Linked DNA regions of Homo sapiens: region 1 is linked to region 2. The links are contacts of gene promoters, found by promoter capture Hi-C in blood cells and fetal thymus (Javierre and others, 2016). All regions are on one chromosome and are shown on one strand. Each heading gives the region's core, a stretch centred on a gene start or on the middle of the fragment in contact. The rest is flanking DNA. Distances are from core to core; before and after follow the strand shown. Region 1 overlaps SCAF8 (SR-related CTD associated factor 8). Region 2 holds the start of CNKSR3 (CNKSR family member 3).

What was found. Contacts are between HindIII fragments. The CHiCAGO score rates a contact against its expected background, and 5 or more counts as called.
Region 1: a fragment that was not itself captured here is called in contact with the fragment with the promoter of CNKSR3 in region 2 in 1 of 17 cell types (erythroblasts); the score reaches 5.0 in erythroblasts.

Annotation. Positions count from the first base shown.
Region 1 is chr6:154,786,502-154,792,478 of GRCh38, forward strand. It overlaps SCAF8 (SR-related CTD associated factor 8), which reads left to right. Exons shown (of 20, transcript NM_014892.5): 4 at 1,360-1,521. Among named protein-coding and RNA genes, the nearest start is that of SCAF8, 56 kb to the left of the region's middle. RefSeq lists a silencer at 5,921-5,977. The HindIII fragment of the contact is 1,551 bases long and covers 548-2,098 here.
Region 2 is chr6:154,507,539-154,513,032 of GRCh38, forward strand. It overlaps CNKSR3 (CNKSR family member 3), which reads right to left and starts at 3,147. Exons shown (of 13, transcript NM_173515.4): 1 at 2,525-3,147. The coding sequence starts at 2,576. LOC101928868 (a long non-coding RNA gene) reads left to right here and starts at 3,253. Exons shown (of 2, transcript XR_001744422.2): 1 at 3,253-3,424. The HindIII fragment of the contact is 4,325 bases long and covers 1,740-5,494 here.

The DNA of each region.
Region 1 (5,977 bases), core at 73-2,572, 280 kb after region 2:
GGTACCCAGGCAAGAAGAGGGTCTTTTTGGGAAAGGGCTATTATTAAATATTTTGTTTCTGAGTCAAACCGTAAACTAAATTCCCTCCCAAGGTTAGTTCGGCCCAGGCCCAGGAATGACAAGGACAGCTTGAAGGTTAGAAGCAAGATGGAGTTGGTTAGGTCTGCTCGCTTTCACTGTCATAACTTCCTCAGTTACAATTTTTGCAAAGGCGGTTTCAATTAGAGAGTCTTAGGAATTCTTGTTTTGAGTCTAATGGTACGTAAAGAGGAAAATTTTAAAGTATTTCAGATTTCTTTGTCTTGATTCTTCTCTCAGGTTTCTAGTTGATGACTTAGCCAAGTTTTCCAAGTATTAAAATTATTTAAAACATTAAATCATACTAAAGAACTTTTTTTGCCATTTTATGTAGCAAAAATGCTAATGTACCAGTGAAGGAAATTCTGTCCCACAAAATGTTAATGTATGTGTATCTAAAGATACTGTGCAGTAAGCTTGCAAGTAAAAGGATTCTTCATTGTGCTTCCCTAACTACATAGGCTAAAAAAGCTTGTGTTGAGAAAGTAGGGGAGGCAGGGCACGGTGGCTCGTGCCTGTATTTCCAGCACTTTGGGAGATCTAGGCAGGAGGATTGCTTGAGCCCAGGAGTTTGAGACTAGCCTGGGCAACATGGTGAAACCAAGTCTCTTCCAAAAAAACATACAGGAATTAGCTGGGCATGGTGCTGTGCACCTGTGGTCACAGCTATTTGGAAGGCTGAGATGGAAGATCATTTGAGCCTGAGAGGTCGGGGTTGTAGTGAGCCATGATGGCACCACTGCACTCCAGGCTGGATGACATAGGATAGATCCCCAGGATTATAGATGTTATATTTGAGAAAAAAAATGGAAACTCTGGCCTCTGTATTTAACAATGTTATAATTTGCCATTTGGCATTGTTCTTTTCATTTGCGTAGGAACCCTTTTGTTGTGTGTTCCAGATGAAGTCTGAGGCATGTTGGCAGTGTGTTTGCTAGAGCCCTTCTTTCCTGAATTTGCTTCTTTCTTCCATGTAGCTTTTCACAGTGGTTAAACAAATTTTAAAAATTATAATGGTACCTTATTTATCACTTTGTTTTATGTCATTGAAGCCAGTTACATAGTACTATTTTAGAACTTCTGATTGTATAGAGTAGCCAAAGTAGATTCTTTAAAATGCCATTCCAGAAACTGATGATATTGGAGTAGTCAATGTATGAATATTCATTACCATAGCATAGGCAATGTCTTTGTATTTACACAGGATTTTTGATGATTTTTGTCTATCAAGAATTTTACCTTTCCGTTTCCTTTCCTTTTCATTCTTCTTTTTTTCATCAGTGTAAACCAGAATACAAAGTACCTGGACTTTATGTTATTGACTCCATTGTGCGACAATCCCGACATCAGTTTGGTCAAGAAAAGGATGTGTTTGCACCCAGATTTAGTAATAACATCATTAGCACTTTCCAGAATTTATATCGTTGCCCTGGGGATGACAAGGTATGCTACTGGTTTTTTTTTTTTGTTTTTTTAAAAGTAGATACAGTAGCCTCTTGGTCTTAATTAGTCTTCAGATTATCTTAGTACAGTCATGTGCCACATAATGATGTTTCAATGACAGACCGCATATACAGTGGTGGTCTCCTAAGATTGTAATACCATATTTTTATTTTACCATTTCTCATTTATGTACAGAAATACCACTGTGTTAAAATTGCCTACAGTATGCAGTACAGTGACATGCTGTACATGTTTGTAGTCTAGGAGCAATGGAATATGCCATATAGTCTAGGTGTGTAGTAGGCTATACCGTCTAGGTTTGTGTAAGTACACATCACACAATGATGAAATCTCCTAATGACGCCATTTCTCAGAACATATCCTTGTCGTTAAGTGGCACAGGACTGTATATTCTCATTTGCTCTTAGTTATTTCAAATTTGAATATTTAATTATTACGGTATCCATATTGCATTTTGTTCTTTGAATTTCTCAAACAGAGAGTATAGAAAGATGTAGCAGATTTGCTACTTTTTAATTTGTTGAAGCAATTGGTGTTAAATAAAATGGCTAAAATAAGCTTTTGGAATTACATGAAACTTATTCACACACACAGTCAATTCAGAATTGTGATTATTTGACATGAGTTGATATTTAACTGCATATTAAAATTCTTCTATTATGGTAGAATTTTATTAATCACACTACTAAGTCTGGTATGTGTAAGATCCAAATGTGTAAATATTCTATAAATAGCAAGTAAAAAAGCTTTGGATCATGAGCGAGCATAAAAAGGAGTTGCTTATCCTTTTATTTGCTCTGAGAGGTTAGCTTATTTATTTTGGATGTTGGAAATTTAGGTGTGCTTTTTCTGACAGGGTTGATTGCAGTGTTGATTTAAGTATGAAAAGATGAGAATAGATGAAGATTCATGTTTGTTTTATGGAAGAACCACAAAACTTGAAAGCTCACCACAAATTATTCACCTTTATATTGAGTATAACAAGATTAAGTAGTTATTTTTCATAACTATTATATAGTCTTGAATCAGAAAAAAATCTTGTTATAATGGATAGCTATGGCGATAAATTTATTTATTTTTTTGAGATGGAGTCTTGCTCTTGTCGCCCAGGCTGGAGTGCAATGGCATGATCTTGGCTCACTGCTACCTCTGCCTCCCGGGTTCAAGTGATTCTCCTGCCTCAGCCTCCTGAGTAGCTGGGATTACAGGCGCCCGCCACCACACTCGGCTAATTTTTTTTTGTATTTTTAGTAGAGATGGAGTTTTGCCATGTTGGGTAGGCTGGTCTCAAATTCCTGACCTTGTGATCCGCCCACCATGGCCTCCCAAAATGTTGGAATTACAAGTGTGAGCCACTGTGCCCGGCCAGAGATAAATTTATTATGCTGTATTCTTTGTGAACTATTCTTGAATATACTCCTTGAGACAGAAAGTTTTTGATTTTTGTTTTTAATTACCTTAGTACTTTAATAATTCTGTGCAGGCAAAAGAATGCTTCTAATTTTTTTTTTTTTTTTTTTGAGACGGAGTCTTGCTCTTTCACCCAGGCTGGAGTGCAGTGGTGCGACCTTGGCTCTCTGCAAACTCTGCCTCCCAGGTTCACGCCATTCTCCTGCCTCAGCCTCCTGAGTAGCTGGGACTACAGGCTTATGCCACCCTGCCCAGCTAATTTGTTGTATTTTTATTGGAGACAGGGTTTCACCGTGTTAGCCAGGATGGTCTCGATCTCCTGACCTCGTGATCCGCCTGCCTTGGCCTCCCAAAGTGCTGGGATTACAGGCGTGAGCCACCGCGCCTGGCCTAGAATGCTTCTTTTAAATGACCTGTCATAATTGATTTTTAAAATAGGTACCTTAGACTACCACTTGAAGTAATGTACTAATCTGAAATTTTATACATGCATTTTTTAGAAGTCACTTTACTGTGATTTAGAAATTTCACTAGTTTGGACTTGGATTTCTGTCAGTTCTGGTGATTAAATCTTTCTTGAATGTGTAGATTTCATAATATAATATCTCATACTAGGGCTTATGGAATAGGGCTTTCTTTTAACCATAGGAGGAGAGAGTAGATTAACATTGTAATCTCAATCATAAATGAAGGACATCGTATGTAGATATATGGAATGATAGTTGTTAGGTGCTGGCCAGTTTTAAAGTATATGATGGGTGGCTTGGAAACGGAAAGATTTTTATATAAAGCAGAAGAACATAAGGCATTTTCCAAGTGCTCATGTTTTAGAGTGGAGAAATAGTCAAATCAGAAAGTATGAAGCAGTCTCTAATTTTCTTGTGCTTCATTTGAAATACACAAATTTGCACATTAATGTAGTTTGGACATAGTTTAAAAATATGTCAGTGTAATATTATGAGGGATTTAAAGTTGAACCAGATCTTTATTCTGAAAATTGCTATTTTACTTTGTAAAACATATACATTTAACAGAATTTTTTTTTTTTTTTTTTTTTTTTTTTTTTTTTTTTTTTGAGACGGAGTCTCGCTCTGTTGCCCAGGCTGGAGTGCAGTGGTGTAATCTCGGCTCACTGCAAGCTCCGCCTCCTGGGTTCACGCCATTCTCTTGCCTCAGCCTCCCAAGTAGCTGGGACTACAGGCGCCCACCACCACGCCTGGCTAATGTTTTGTATTTTTAGTAGAGACTGGGTTTCACCATGTTAGCCAAGATGGTCTCGATCTCCTGACCTTGTGATCTGTCCGCCTTGGCCTCCCTAAGTGCTGGGATTACAGGCGTGAGCCACTGCACCTGGCCTCTTTTTTCGTACTTGATTTTAGCCTCTGTCTTTTTTTTTCCTAATGGAATAAGTGGCATCACGATAGTAGTAACTAGGACTTAGTACTTGTTTGCAGAATAGTTATGTGTTAAACAGTTGTGAATCAGATTGTTTGGTGATAGTACCAAGAAAATAGTTATTACATAATCACTCTGCTTTTATTAGTGATAATATGAATTCAGGATATTGTTACTCTGACATAAGTGTTCTCTGGGTGAAATGTTTATTTCAAGAAGCAAGGTATAATAGATGGAACTGCTGATACTTCTTACAAAATACTGTAGGACATCTTGAGACATTATTCTTCATTGGGCATATTTTTCTGCCTATTAAGTTTGAAGCTTTCAGGATCTGTAAAACTTTAATACAACCAAGGAAGACATATAAGTAGGAATTTTTCTAGTTACCAAGTTTTCTCTAAATACTGCTAATTATGTTACTAGATTTCAGAATTACCCAAGAAATAGAAGTCACTAATAACTAGTCTTTTCAAGTTTATAATACACAGAATATAACAAGAGACAGGCAATAGTTAAATAGAATTTCCCAACTAAATAGATTTTCATATGAAATGACTGAGATTAGGGTATAAGTAATTAAATAGAAGTACGTTATAGTATCGCTATAAGAAGAGCTGTAACAAGGCATATATCTCCCTCCCAAGATGCTCAAAATTTGAGAATGGCTAGACATTTAAAATACTAGCTGGCTTAAACAGTCTGATACAGTTTGGAGGTTCAGAAAAGAGACCCGAGAATCCTTCTGGTATACTGTCTTATTTTATAAATGAGGATGCTAAAGTTTTTTTGTTTTTTTAAAAAATGTGTTGACATAGTTGGCCTGAGACCAGGATCAGCAGCAACGTTATATAGATCGTAAATATTTCATGAATTTTATAGCAGCTGCCATATGACTGACTGGAACCTTACAAAAAATACAAAGAACTCTGACTATTTGAGTAATCCAGAAAGAGGTTGAGACTAAAACAAAAATGTGATTTATTTGGTGGTAAGATGATTAGAGTGTGGGTTGGGATGGGCAATGTTGAGACTCTTTATGAGGAATATAAAATTGGATGCAGTGCTGCAGTTCAGGGGCATATCAAGAAGAGTAAATGAGATGGTTCACAGATGTCAAAAGTCTGCTTGCCAGTGGCAAGCAGGTTTTTTATTTTTTATTATTTTTTTTAATTTACAAAATGGTAAAGGATTCAAATTTTAGGAAATGAAATAATGTAGAACATTATTCATACAGAGGATGATTCATCGTTCTGAGGGCCAGATTAAGTAATGCCAGTATGACATTGACATTCTGCAAGGGGAAAGGGAATAGTAAAGAATAAAGAAGAGGGAATGAAGAGAGAAGAAATGGTTACGCTTCAGATTCTGTCTGTACAGAAGTTTGTCCATCTCTGGTTCAAAGTGTCAGTAGGGAATTAGCATTCATGGCAGGATGCTCAAAAAAGGAAGTAATTTGATTAAATTCTTACATGAGGAAATGCCCTCTCCTCAAGTAGATTGTAAAATGAAAGTTTTAAAATGTCACATTAGATAAGGACTTTGTCCTACAAGTTACGTATTTGTTCAAAAGATAGACATTGTGTGAGACAAAGTTAAAATCAACTATAAATATAACGTTAGTACTGAG
Region 2 (5,494 bases), core at 1,897-4,396:
AATACTTGAGCATCATTATTATGAGAAATATTCAAGTAATGGGTCACGCAACTTGGAAGATTGCAGCCTCTTATCATCTTAGCCATCTTTTTTAGATTCGAACACAGAACGTATCCAGGTCTTTCTACTAAGCTGTATTTCAGGGTCCAAAAGGGCACAGGCATTTTGTATAACGTAGTCAAGTGCCAACCACAGGTATGTAACCTAGTAAGTATCGTAGGTATTGAGCCAGCCATAGATGTTCTTTCAGGTCAGGAGAAAACTTTTCCTAGATGAAAGTAACTCAACTAACTGATAACGTCAAGGCAACTGGCTAACAAAAACGTTTTAATCTACTTTCCCTTTTAAATACTCAACAAACATAACAGGATGTGATTTTACGCTTCTCCTTTTCCAATCCCAAGAGGGACAAAAACAACAACAACAACAACAACAAAACCAGACACAAATCTTGAGGGTGTGAAGATCTCACTCCATAATCTTCCTGTGCGCCTGTTACCATTTTTCTGATTGTACATTATCAACTAAGCTGGCAGAGGCTCAGAAAAGCCAGGGTGATAAGATGTAACCCTTTCTTTCTGCTACAGCAGAACTGTCCAATAGAAATATAATGGAAGCCACAAATGTGAGCCCTGTGTTATTTTAGATTTTCTAGGAGACATATGTAAGAAGGTAAAAATAAACAGGTGAAGCTTATTTTAGTAATATATTTTATTTAACCTAACGTATCAAAATACTATCATTTCCACATGTAATAAAAAGTATTAAGATATTTCATGTTCTTTTTTTTCATACCAAGTCTTCAAATGCCATGTGTATTTTAGACTTACAGCACATTGCAATTCTAACCAGCCACATTTCAAGGGCTGCAGAGCCACAAGTGGTACTGGTTACTAAGTTGGACAGAGCGGCTCTAGAAGTCAACAGTAGCTGAAATTTGCAGTGTCTCAAGTTGGCTCTATGAGGGACATACAGATAAAATACATATCAACTCAGTTTCAGGAAGCTGCCAGCCTAGGGAATTTGGCAGCATCTTGAATGGAGGAACACACCTCATTTCAAGCTAGCGTGGGCATGGATGGCTTTTAAGCTCATGCTTCCTACCAAGTACTGGCAATGCCACTTACTCTTTACCAAGGGAAACCTAGTCACCAAGGCAGAAACATGTGTTGTTTTTAGCTTCATTTTATATAGGAGTCCAGGAAATTCTGCTCACTTGACAAACCCGTTCTCAAGGAGTTCTCCCAGAGGAGCAGGAAATGGTCAGACATACCCACTGACACACCCCACACACCTCGGACATCCTATTCCACGTGGTCTATGTGTAAGTCACAGGCGTGAGAAATGAGATGTAGCGGTGATCAGTTTTCATTATGCTGCAGCCATGGGTGGGACGGTTTGAAAGACGACCTGGTCTTACCAGTATTACCTACCTCACAGGCTTACTGTGATGACCAAGGACAATAACAGAGAGAGCTCTTAGCAAACTGTAAAGCGCTACACAATTCTAGTTATTACTGAGAAAGAACACCATTCCTCACCTGGAAGAGCAGATAGAAAAACAAATAGTAACTTGAAACAGAGATGTCGTTGGGGGTGGGGGGAAACCATGAAAATACAGATTGTTCTTGGTGGACTTTGTTCTCTTGAAAGTACAGAAAAGGGTTGAGTAAACTCTAGTACCTTTCCCTCGAAATCGTAGGAGACATTGAAAAGTAAGCGAGCCAGCTAGGAGGACAAGCTTCTACCTCTGCTCATTCCCCCCACCACCCCCCCACCGCCCCAGCCCCACTGCCTTCCTCATCCCAAATATTGTATGAATCAAGACAGTGGTTCCAAACAATTATATTTCTCCTTCCCAGTGCTTACATGTGGCCTGAAAATGCAGCGCCACCGGGGATACTGGCGCCTCCCGGAGCAAAAGTCACTGCCTCCCGGGGAGTCCTGGCTCGAGGTTTCTCCCTGGCGCAAATGCTATGGTGTTGGCTTTTGCGCGGCCCTCTCGCCTTCTCCAACAAAAACAGACAGGCTCGGCGGACCCGCCGGAGTCTCCCTCTACCTGTCCGACAGCCCTGTCACGCCTGCGGACGGCTCTGGGCAGGCGGCATGGACGAGGTCCCGCGGGAGTCACCCACACAAAGGCACCTTGTGCCTCTGCACTCGGGCCCCCGGGTCGCCGGGCACCGCACCGGGGCCAGGCAGGGAGAGCGCCCCCCGGCCCGAGTGCCGAGTCCCGAGATCGGCATCCCCAGCCCTCAACCGCCACAGAAAGGCCACCCCTACTCCCTGGTTTAAAGATAGGGCTCCCCTCGGCTTGCCACAATCCGCACCCTGGAAAGGAAGAGCTCGGAGCAGGTACGAGAGATAGGAGCGCACAGGCCACTCGGCAGAAGTTTGCATTGTCACCGGGCTGTGCCCTCACCGCTTCTCGCCGGGAGGAAGGGCCAAGTACCCTCTTCCCCAGCTCCTCGTCCGCCCCATCCCCGAGGCTGGAGGACTCCGGACCCCCCCAAGGCCCGCGCACCTCTAGTCCAGTCCACCACTTGTTTGGGGCTCCACTTGGTCACGGGTTCCATGGTAAACCGCTTCGCCTCTCGCTGGGCTGGAGAGTCGCAGATAAAGTGCTGCTGCCTGCGCTCCGGTGCCCCTTCCCGGGAGGGCGCGCCCGCGGCTGCTCCCCTGCGCCCGAGCGACTCCGTCAAGACTGCATGGCCGCGGTCAGCCAGTCGTCCCAGCGCGGCTCCGCCAGGGGAGCCCGGCCCTCTCCCTCCAGCTGCCACAGTCCAGCTGCAGCTCCTCCTTCCCCCGCCGCCGCCGGGATCCCGGGCACAGCTGCTGCTCCCGAGCGACGGCAGCTGCAGGCACGCCGGGCTGCGACCCCAGACCCCTGGCCTCGGCTCGGCACGGGAGCCTCCCGGCCCGCGACCACTTCCTCGGATCTCTCGAGGCGCGATCGGCTCTCCCTCGGCCGGTCTTCTCGCCTGCTGGCTCTCCGGGGTCCCCGCTCCGCGTGCGCTGGCGTCCCGGAGCCTTCCCGGCGCAGGTCCCACCTCCTGCGCCGCCCTCCCGTGCCGCCCTGGCAGGGCCGAGCGCAGAGCGTGCGCGCTCGGGTTGCAAAGTTTCAGCTCCGGTTGCTGCAAACCGAATAAAAGAGAGGGCGGGGCCGAGGGTCTAGGGAAACTCGTGGGAGGGGGCGGGTCCGCCCGAAGCGGCGGACTCGGGTTACTTTCCCTCTCTAAGCCGGTCCGGCTCACACCCGCAGCGTCCCGGGCCCCGCTTTCCTTTTCAAGGGGCGGGTTGTAGATCGCGCGCGCACCCTGGAGAGCCCGCTGGTTTGTGTGAGGCCCTGGCCCTGTGGGTAGCAGAACACTCTGTCTCGCTGTGAGCAACAATACACTAAAAAAAAAAGAAAAGAAAAAAAAAAGTAAGATCTGCATGTTCTGTTCATTTTAAATGCTTTATATCGTAATACTACTCTGCCATTAAGCCGTCATTTTAGGTTTCTTAAAGTAGAACAATTTTTTTTTTTAGATGGAGCCTCGCTCTGTCGCCCAGGCTGGAGTGCAGTGGCGCGATCTCAGCTCACTGCAGCCTCTGCCTCCCAGGTTCCAGCGATTCTCCCGCCTCAGCCTCCGGAGTAGCTGGGATTACAGGCGTCTGCCACTACGCCCGGCTAATTTTTGTATTTTTAGTAGAGACAGGGTTTCACCATGTTGGCCAGACTGGTCTCGAAATCCTGAACTCAGGTGATCCGCCAGCCTCGGCCTCCCGAAGTGCTAGGATTACAGGCCTGAGCCACCGCGCCAGGCCAGAACAATTTTATTTCATTTATATGTTGACTGAAATCGTAACAATGTAACTCTTTTAATGCTATTGCTATGAAATTTCAACTTTGCGACTAAAATTAGATTGATGGCTTTTAGCGTTATATTTTGCTATATTATAATTTCATATTTACAGAGTGAGCTAATGCTCCTTGGGATTAGTCATTAACCGTGAGAGGAAAGCTGTTAGCCAAGAAAAAAAAAATAGCTCGTGCACAATTTCAGCGCCTGGCAGGGGAGGGCCCTTCCACATTCATGGACTGCAACTGGGGCCAGAGTTAATGCTAAACTGGGGGAAAATCTAATTTGAATGCCTGCCTCTCCTTCAAGTTCTCCCTGCATCCTAACCGCCCCCCCAACCCCTGCCACCCTCGCCACCACCCCTCCCCTCACCCCCCAACACCCCCCCCAACCCCCCACCCCCGCCCCGCCCCGCCCAGCAACCTCTTCCTCCCACTCTTTTTGGCACTGAATGATTCTTACTTTCAATTACGGTTATTTATTTACATCTTCCTCTTGGAGACTATTAACCCCTTGAGGGCAGAACCTACTTGATCTCATATAGAGTTTTCTCTCCTCCCTTTCTTCCTACCACCTAACTTGTAGCACCCAGCACGGGACCAAAGGCAAGGTTGGTATTTATTCATTCAGTAAATATCCGGGAATGCTTCCTATGTGCCAGCCACTGTATTCATTCAGTATTTGTTGAATTCGTGTGATATGTGCTACTTACACAGGTCTGTTTGGACGCACATGTGGAAAAATAGCTAGCAGCCAGCCTAGCATCTGATGAGCTGGAGCATCCAAGCAAAAGAAACATTTTTAAAAAGCAAAACATCAGACCCACCTCCCATTCAACTCCCCTAGAGGACTGGGCAACACAGAGACACACAACTATCAAATATAGTGATTCTTTTTCTTCATCTAGCGAAAGTGACTGGCAGACCACACAAGTTGGCAAAGGCAATGACAAAATTCCTGATATAGTAGTTGTCCTTAAAAAAAAAAAAAGACCTTTAAACTTAATGACATCCAGCATTAACCATCTTTACAGCAGTCAGCAGAGAGAAGGACCTTGACACTGGTTCACTGGAAAGGGTAACCAACCTGATGCACACCTTTTGTTTCAGCAATCACTGCCTGTTGTGTGATTTCTGATTATGATTAGGGTGACCACATAACTTACCTCCAAATCAAAATATTCTTGAGCATGAAAGAAGCAACTATCAAGAATTACATTGGAATAACATGAATAAACTGGGCCATACGGTCCCCACAATTATAAAAGAAAGGTCAAATATTAATGATTTTGCCGTGGAATTTTACTTGATGTTTTCACGTCTTCAGATTCATTGGCAGTAGTCTTTACCAGAAGAGCTAAAACACTAAAATTCTGCGAGTCAAGCAAGAGTTTGCAAAACATCCCACGGAGCCAACACACTATCTATACTTGGTACATAAATACAGCATAGCTAAAGAGGAAGGCCACGCTAAGATCTCTAACCCGGAAGACCAATTAACTATCTAAATGAATTAGCATTCTGTTTACACTTCAACTTCTGGAAGCTAATTACTATTTAAATAAAGCCTTCTACCTTAATTACAGCTGTTAGCACGTGAAAGTTTTAGGGAGGCCTGCCTTCCTAGCTGAAATGCAAACTTGAGGACAT